3 separate regions of the Homo sapiens genome follow, and regions 1 and 3 are each linked to region 2. Evidence: promoter capture Hi-C in human tissues and cell types (Jung and others, 2019). All regions are on one chromosome and are shown on one strand. The core of a region is centred on a gene start or on the middle of the fragment in contact, and the rest is flanking DNA. Distances in the headings are between cores, read along the strand shown. Region 1 holds the start of ZNF100 (zinc finger protein 100). Region 2 holds the start of ZNF737 (zinc finger protein 737). Region 3 holds the start of ZNF43 (zinc finger protein 43).

Region 1 (2,700 bases), core at 178-2,677, 1.2 Mb after region 2:
AACAAGTACACTAAAGGACAAATAGGTGATAATGTGAATTAGGAAGGAAAAGTTGACATTTGGGAACGCCAGAAGAAATTGGAAATTTAGTATCTTACTGCAAGCCAGAGTGAGGCTGGAGAAATGGGGGACGGGGGTTAGACTTAACAACCTGCTTGGGACACAGGTGAAAAATGCAGCAGAAAATCAGTTCCCCGTGGAGTGTGAAAATAATTAAGAGACAGGCAATTCCACTGAGGTGTCTCTAGTCCCTGGGTTCCTACTTAAAAAAAAAAAAAATCTAACTCAGGTGCATTTTTTTTTTAATTACTACATTCAGAGAAAATGTAGGCTTAAACAACTATAAACTGTTAATTAACCTCTGATTACACAACCAGGAAATCTTCACCTGTATTGTACAAATCAAGAAACTACGTTACTGTAACCAATTACTAAATTTAGTTTTCTTCATCATACATTTTATAAATGACTTTCCTTCAAGCCTCTCCCATAGACAACAAACTACAAACCATAGCTGGATACTCTATGATTCTTGAATCACTGTTTGATTAAATTCTTTAGGCCAGGCGCGGTGGCTCACGCCTGTAATCCCAGCACTTTAGGAGGCCAAGGCGGGCGGATCACGAGGTCAGGAGTTCAAGACCAGCCTGGCCAACGAGGTGAAACCCCGTCCCAACTAAAAATACAAAAAAATAAGGCCGGCCCAGTGACAGGCGCCTGTAATCCCAGTTACTCGGGAGGCTGAGCCAGGAGAATCTCCAGAACCCGGGAGGCGGAGGTTGCAGTGAGGGGAGATCGCGCCACTAAACCCTAGCCTGGGCGACAGAGCGACTCCGTCTCAAACAAACAAAAAAATCGTTAATATTTGTGCAGTGACTCCCATACATTTTTAATAGGAGAAAAGAGGAACTGGGAAAGCCACGGACCAAAGATCTTCCCATTCATGAACCCGCACCCCGAGTCAGGATTTTCCCCTGACGACCCTCCCGTGGTCCCTGCACAATCTGAGAGAGACGCGGCGCTGCGGGTGCAGAGCTGCCAAGAGAGGGCTCCAGGCCAAGGCACAGTCACTACGCAGGGAAGAGAAAGGACGCCTGGGGTCCTGGCTGTCAGCGCAGCCGCCATCTTATGGCCGAAGGGGACGGAGGCCGAGCTGGGCAAGGCGCAGATTGTGAAGCTGACTGCGGAGAGGCCTGAGTCCCGCCACAGCTACTTCCCACCAGTTCCAACCAGCCCTTTCGCCGTCTCTCGGGATGTCGGACCGGGCACTCTCACCATTTCTAGGCTTCTAGGGGGTCCTGGCGTCTTAGCTGTGGATCTCCCAATATCTGCAGGTCAGAGGGCCACACAGGCTAGGCCCCTAGGAGCAGAAGACACAGAGAAGTGAGAGCAAAACCTGGAGCTCCGGCTACAGCGAGAGACAAAGACCCCGCCAAACCCGGAAGCCGTCCAGTCCGCTCCAGCTGCATGCCTGATTGGACGGTTTCCAGCCCAGCGTCCCTGGTTGGATAATGCTTAAATCCCCGCCCTGTCAGGCTTTGAGTGACAGAAGATGTGATCAGATGCGGGTTCAATGAAGAAAGAGTGACAGCCTAGACTGCCCCCTCTTCTGACAGGGCTTCCTCCCTCAGCTGAGCTAGGCCCATCCCAGAGAGTATTTGCCTTTAAATTTGTGTATAAGGTCATATGTATAAATAAATAATACATTATATAGCTATACACAAGTGAAAAGAATATAACAATTATTTTAAAATTTCAGCTTTTATGACCTTCCTGGCTTCTGGCCCTTTGAGCAGGCAGCCTGAGATTTTAGAAAAGAGAAAATCATCTAAAATGAATGTCAGCCACATGTGGATTTGAAATTTTCTAGTAGCCAAACTTTAAAAAGAAACAAGTTGAACTGATTGTTAACAATGTAATTCACCCATTATATTCAAAATATTATCATTTTAATGTGTGAGAAATATGTAATTATTGATAAAATATATAAATATTTGGAACTAAATCTTTGAAGCTGACTTTGTATTTTACCTTTCTAGCATATCGCATTTCAGACCAGGCACATTGTGGGAACCCAGTAGCCACACATGGACAATAGCTGTCACATTGAAGTGCAGCTCTGATGTCAGCGGTGTGAAGGGCCTGAACATCTCTTTCCTGCGAGAGTGAAAGAAGAGACTCTCCCTACAAACATCTCTCTTTGGTTCCTAGGGTGGACCAGATAGTTCCCATAGAAAGAGCTGAGGGCAGTAGGAATAAAATAGCCACAGGTAATAAACAACTGCTGGCCACCTGTTGCCCACCTTTCTTTTAGAGACCAGATAGTGAACAAAGGATGATGGGGCCACAGGAGAAAAAACAACTATGTCTTCAGTTCTGTCCACACACTTGAACTCCAGTATTTAGAGATGGAGAAAATAGATTAAAAACAAACATAGTTTGCTATATGGTCTTGGCCCTAACAATCAGGCTGTGTTTATCTGTTTTCTCCTGTGGTGTGGGGGACTATGTGAGTCTAAGCACCAATCACACGCATACATGTCTACAGGTATTTCTGCATTACCCAAAATTCTCTTACAAAACATCGAACTTTAAATCAGGGGAAGAAATCAGTACCTAGAGGGTGTCCACTGTTAGAAGCCAACTCTTAGTCAACCTGTCACTGAATCCTGGCAACTTATCTGTACTGGGTGCATGTAT
Region 2 (2,843 bases), core at 10-2,509:
GCGTGCCCATAGCCCCAACTACTCCAGAGGCTGAAGCAGAAGAATGCTTGAACCTGAGAGGCGGAGGTTGCAGTGAGCCGAGATCTGACACTGCACTCCAGCTCTGGCGACAGAGCGAGACTCCGTCTCAAAAAAAAAAAAATAAAAATAATAAATTGAGGAACATGGGGTACACTTGAGGCCTTGCTTGAGACACATGTGGAAAATGCCAGGGAAAATCAGTCCGCTGTGGCGTGTGAAAATAATTAAGTGGCAGGCAATTAGACTGAAGAAGCTCTAGTCCCTGGATTTCTACCTCAAAAAAAAAAAAATCTAAGCTCATGTGCATTTTTTGGGAAATTACTACATTAGGGGAAACAAAATTCAGGCTTAAGCAACTATAAACTGCCAATTAAACTGTAATTACATAACCAGGAATTTTTTTTTTTTTTTTGAGACGGAGTCTCACTGTCGCGCAGGCTGGAGTGCAGTGGCAAGATCTCAGCTCACTGCAACATCCACCTCCGGAGTTCAAGCGATTCTCTCACTTCTGCCTCCCGAGAAGCTGTGATTACAGACATCTGTCATCACACCCAGCTAATTTTTGCATTTTTAGTAGACATGGGGTTTCCCCATTTGGGCCAGGCTTATCTTGAAGTCCTGACCTCAAGTTATCCGCCTGCCTCGGCCTCCCAAAGTGCTGGGATTACAGGCGTGAACGACTGCGCCCGGCCCCATAAATTTTGAATAGCAGAAAACAGAAACTGTGAACTCCACGGACCAAAGCTCTTCCCATTCATGAACCTGCACCCCGAGTCAGGATTCTCCCCTGACGACCCTCTGGTGGTCCCTGCACATTCTGGGAGAGACGGGAGGCTGCGGTTGCAGAGCTGCCCACGGAGCGCTCCAGGCCAGAGCAGTCACTACGCAGGGAAGACACAGGACGCCAGGGGGCCCGGCTGTCAGCGTAGCCGCCAAATTATGGCTGAACGGGACTGAGGCCGAGCTGGGCAAGGAGAACTCAGGGTGCAGATTGTGGAGCTGACTGCGCAGAGGCCTGAGTCCCGCCACAGCCACTTCCCACCGGTTCCAACCAGCCTATCCCCCTCTCTCGGGATGTCGGACCGGCACTCTCACCATTTCTAGGCTTCCAGGGGCTCCCGGGCGTCTTAGCTGTGGATCTCCCAATACCTGCAGGACACAGGGCCACAGAGGCTGGGCCTCTAGGAGCAGAGGACACACAGCAGTGAAGACAAGACCTGGAGCTCCGGCTGCAGAGACAAAGGCCCCGCAAAACCCGGAAGCCTTCCGCTTCACTCTGGCTGCGTGCCTGATTGGACGGCTTCCAGCCCAGCGTCCCTGATTGGATAATGCTTAAATCCCCGCCCCCTCAGGCCCTGAGTGACAGAAGATATGATCAGATGCTGGGTTAAGTGAACAAAGAGTGCCAGCCTAAGCAGCTGGCTTTTCAAACAGTGCTTCCTCCCTGAGCTGAGCCAGGCCCACCCCAGAGCATGGGAATATTTTATCTCTTGTTTACTCTCTTTCTTGTTGAATGTATTAAAAAGGTGAACAGAAGTATTTTGCTGTCATTAATAATACATAAAATTTTTGTTCAACAGAAAATCAACTTTTACTTTGGTAATGGTAAAATCTATTAAAGCTAATTTTAATAAAACCTTATAAATAAATCAAATTTGTCATTTTTGAGCACTCCAGATTTACATATATATTTTGTAATATCTCGTAATTTTAAAAAACTATTTATATTTTATTTTTGTCCACATTCTTTTTATTTTTTCAATTTGAAACAATCTTTAATTTCCAACAGCTATAGGAGATAGAAATCATTTAGAGGCAGGCACGGATAGTTCACGCTGGTAATTCCAACACTTTGGGAGGCCAAGGTGAGCAGATCACTTGAGGTCAGGAGTTCAAGACAAGCCTAGCCAACATGGTGAAACCCCATCTCTAATAATAACTAATAAATAATAATAATAACTAATAATATAAAAAGTTACCTGGGTGTGGGGGTGCACATCTGTAGTCCCAGCTACACCGGAGGCTGAGGCAGGAGAATCACTTGAAGCCAGGAGGCGGAGGTTGTGTAACAGCCCAAGGGGTTTATTTTACCCTTTGCCTAGACAGAGCCGATTCATCAAGACAGGGGAATTTGTGGAGGAAAAGTCACATATTAAATCTGAACTCAATTGAATGTGGACACAAACAATTGTCACCAAGTCCCAGAACAGGTTGTGTGAGCCCCTGAGGTGTTCATCCAGCGCTGTATTGAAGAAATCTCTATTTCAATCTATTCCTATATATTAGTTGTTGAAAAACAATAGACAATCACAAAAAAAGGTTGACCTTTTTGTGTTCCTTGAGGCAAGTCGTGAAGGGCTCTCATCACTGGGCCTTATGCCAAACAACTCGTTACAAAAGAGCTAAGGTCCCAGACCGCCCTGAAGCTTCATAAGACCTCTCCTTGTCTGTGTACGATGGACGGGTGGCTGACTCTAGAGCTGTGGCTGTTGCCTCCCTCTCTGGTGGTGAATCCCCCATAGTCTGGTGAGGGAAAATATATATATATATATATATATATATATATATATATCTTTTCCCATTTCCTCGTCTTATTAAGATTGGCTTATTACATCAATCTGCTTATTATATTTATTTGCTTATTATATCATTTGCTTATTATATTATTACTTTATTATGTCTGCATTGCCATTTACGTGGGATAAAAGTTGTTTACCCTTAATGGTATTGTGTGTGTGTCTTTGTTTCTCCCCTCTCACATTTGCCTCACAGAACATTTTTGGCATCACAAATAGGATTTGAAAACAAAAGTGTACCCCTTT
Region 3 (2,786 bases), core at 189-2,688, 1.3 Mb after region 2:
GGAAGGATGGAAGCAAGGATGGAAAGATGGAAGGAAGGAAGGAAGGAAGGAAAGAAAGAAGAAGGAAAGAAGAAAGGAAAATTTATTTAAGTCCATCCAATGATTTTTCAAAAAATAATTAAAATATCTGTATCAAAAATATACAGATATCTAAAATATCTTTATCTAAAACGTATCTCTGTATCTAAAATGTACACTAAAAAAAAAAAAAAAATAGCCCGGCTCGGTGGCTATTTTTAAGTGCTGTAATCCTAGCACTTTGGGAGGCTGAGGCGGGTGGATCATCTGAGCTCAGGAGTTCGAGACCACCTGGCCAATATAGTGAAATCCCGTCTTTACTAAAAATACAAAAAAAATTAGCTGGGTGTGGTGGCAGGCACCTGTAATCCCAGCTACTAAGGAGGCTGAGGCAAGAAAATCGCTTGAATCCGGGAGACGGAGGTTGCAGGGAGCCGAGATAGCACCATTGCACTCCAGCCTGGGCAGCAAAAGCGAAAGTCCATCTCAAAAAAAAAAAAAAAAAGAAAAAAAAGAAAAAATAGTTGATAACGTGAATTGCGGAGAAGAAGGTGGCATTTGGGAATGTCAGAAATAAAGGAAAATCTAGTTTAGTTTTTTTTTTTTTTTTTTTCCAGAGGGAGTTTCACTCTGTGGCCCAGGCTGGAGTGCAATGGCGCGATCTCGGCTCACTGCATCCTCCGCCTCCTGGGTTCAAGCGATTTTCCTGTCTCAGCCTCCCTAGTAGCTGCGATTACAGGCGCGCGCCACCACGCCCAGCTAATTTTTGTATTTTTAGTATAGACGGGGTTCACCATATTAGCCAGGCTGCTCTCGAACTCCTCACCTCGTCATCCACCCACCTCGACCTCCCAAAGTGCTGGGATTAAAGGCGTGACCCACCGCGCCCGGCCGACTCTCCTGTTTCTAATAGACCAAAAGAGGGACTAGAAATGCCACGGACCAAAGCTCTTCCTATTCATGAAACTGCATCACGAGTCAGGATTCTCTCCTGACGACCCTCCTGTGGCCCCTGCACAATTTGGGAGAGACGCCGCGTTGCGGCTGCAGAGCTGCCCACAGAGGGCTGCAGGCCGGGACACAGTCACTGCGCAGAGAAGAGACAGGACGCCCGGGGCTGCCTCCCAGAGCAGCCGCCATCTTATGGCTGAAGGGGATTGAGGCCGAGCTGGGCAAGAACTCCGGCACGCGCAGATTGTGGAGCTGACTGCGGGAAGGCCTGAGTCACGCCACAGCCCCTTCCCCCTCTCGGGATGTCGGACCGGCACTCTCACCATTTCTAGGCTTCCGGGGGGTCCTGGCGTCTTAGCTGTGGATCCCCCAATACCCGCAGGTCACAGAGCCACAGAGGCTGGACCTCTAGCAGCAGAGGACACAGAAGAACGAAGACGAGACGCAGAGCTCCAACTGCAGCCAGAGACAAAGGCCCCGCCACATCCCGGAAGCCGCCCTGTCCTCTCCTGCCCCGTGCCTGATTGGACGGTTTCCAGCCCAGCGTCCCTGATTGGATAACTTCTAAGGTCCTGCCCCCGCAAACCCTGAATGAAAGATGTGATCAGACGCTGGGCTGAAAGAAGAAAGAATGACAGCCTAGGCTGCCGCCTTTTCAGGCAGGGCTTCCTCCCTGAGCAGAGCAGGCCCAACCCAGAGGGTATTTGCCTTTAACCTTGTGTATAAGGTCATCTTCACTTATAAGTAATATACTATATGGATACTAAAAAATGAAAACAATTGTTTTTGAATTTCAGCTTTTATGACCTTCCTGGCTTCTGGCCCTTTGAGTAGGAAGTATTACAAACATTGAATATTTTATTATTTATCCTCTGTGGGGTTTTTCTTATTCTTGAGAGGGAGTCTCTGTTACCCAGGCTGGAGTGCAGGGTCATGACTGCAGCTCACTGCAGCCTCAGCAATCTAGGCTTGAGCAATTTACCTGTCTCAGCCTTCTGAGTAGCTGGGACCACTGGCATGTGGCCCCATGCTCAGCTAATTTGTTATCATATTTTTATTTGTAGAGATGAAGCCTCACTAGATAGCCCAGAATGGTCTCAAACTCTTGGGCTCAATGAATCCTACAAAGTCAGCCTCCCAAAGTACTGGGATTATAGGCATGAACCATCACATTCAGACTGAATTATTTTATCAAAAAATTTTTTTAAAGCATTGAGGTCCATTAATAGAATTCAAGGAAATGTTATGCACATGTTTTAAAAGCAAATTAAAAAGCATATACAAAAAGAGAACATTTTTTAAAAAACTAAATATAGGTAATGTTACCAGAAAAAGTTTAGATCTCCTGACTTTAAGTTGCAGTATGCTAATGGAATATTCTTAGTGGATAGTATTCCATTTTCATAAGAAATTCAAAACAAGATAATTTCCAGGTTTTAGAAACTGATGTAAAACATAAAAATATAGAAAATCTCTAATGTGTTCCCATGATATAGTATTACTTGAAATATAAACTGGGCAAACTCAGCAAAAGACAATTTAATCTCAAATTTCAAAATAGGTACAGAAGTTCTAATGGAATAATAAATGGAATCCAGGATTTTATTCATAAAAAGGCTAAAAAGTGACCATTCTCTGTGATTTTGAAAGTAGGAATTTGTGTAAACAGATGTGTATTTGCATCTACATTTGCCTACACTTACTTTTTTTTTTTTTTTTTTTTTTTTTTTGAGACGGAGTCTTGCTCTGTCGACCAGGCTGGAGTGCAGTGGCACAATCTCGGCTCACTGCAACCTCCGCCTCCCAGGTTCAAGCGA

What was found. The method cuts DNA at HindIII sites, captures the fragments that hold promoters and counts their contacts. A contact is called where the count stands out against the background at its distance.
Region 1: the fragment with the promoter of ZNF100 here is called in contact with the fragment with the promoter of ZNF737 in region 2 in 1 of the 25 tissues and cell types used here (heart left ventricle).
Region 3: the fragment with the promoter of ZNF43 here is called in contact with the fragment with the promoter of ZNF737 in region 2 in 1 of the 25 tissues and cell types used here (hippocampus).

The regions. Positions count from the first base shown.
Region 1 is chr19:21,766,152-21,768,851 of GRCh38, forward strand. ZNF100 (zinc finger protein 100) reads right to left here and starts at 1,428. Exons shown (of 5, transcript NM_173531.4): 1 at 1,276-1,428. The coding sequence starts at 1,278. RefSeq lists a silencer at 1,415-1,592. The HindIII fragment of the contact is 21,319 bases long and covers 1-2,700 here.
Region 2 is chr19:20,564,522-20,567,364 of GRCh38, forward strand. ZNF737 (zinc finger protein 737) reads right to left here and starts at 1,260. Exons shown (of 4, transcript NM_001159293.2): 1 at 1,117-1,260. The coding sequence starts at 1,119. All of the region lies in intron 2 of LOC105372316 (a long non-coding RNA gene), which reads left to right. RefSeq lists enhancers at 693-852, 1,063-1,112. The HindIII fragment of the contact is 4,540 bases long and covers 1-2,843 here.
Region 3 is chr19:21,834,744-21,837,529 of GRCh38, forward strand. It overlaps ZNF43 (zinc finger protein 43), which reads right to left and starts at 1,439. Exons shown (of 4, transcript NM_003423.4): 1 at 1,293-1,439. The coding sequence starts at 1,295. RefSeq lists enhancers at 530-1,503, 1,033-1,122, 1,163-1,212, 1,233-1,392, 1,504-2,476. The HindIII fragment of the contact is 27,139 bases long and covers 1-2,786 here.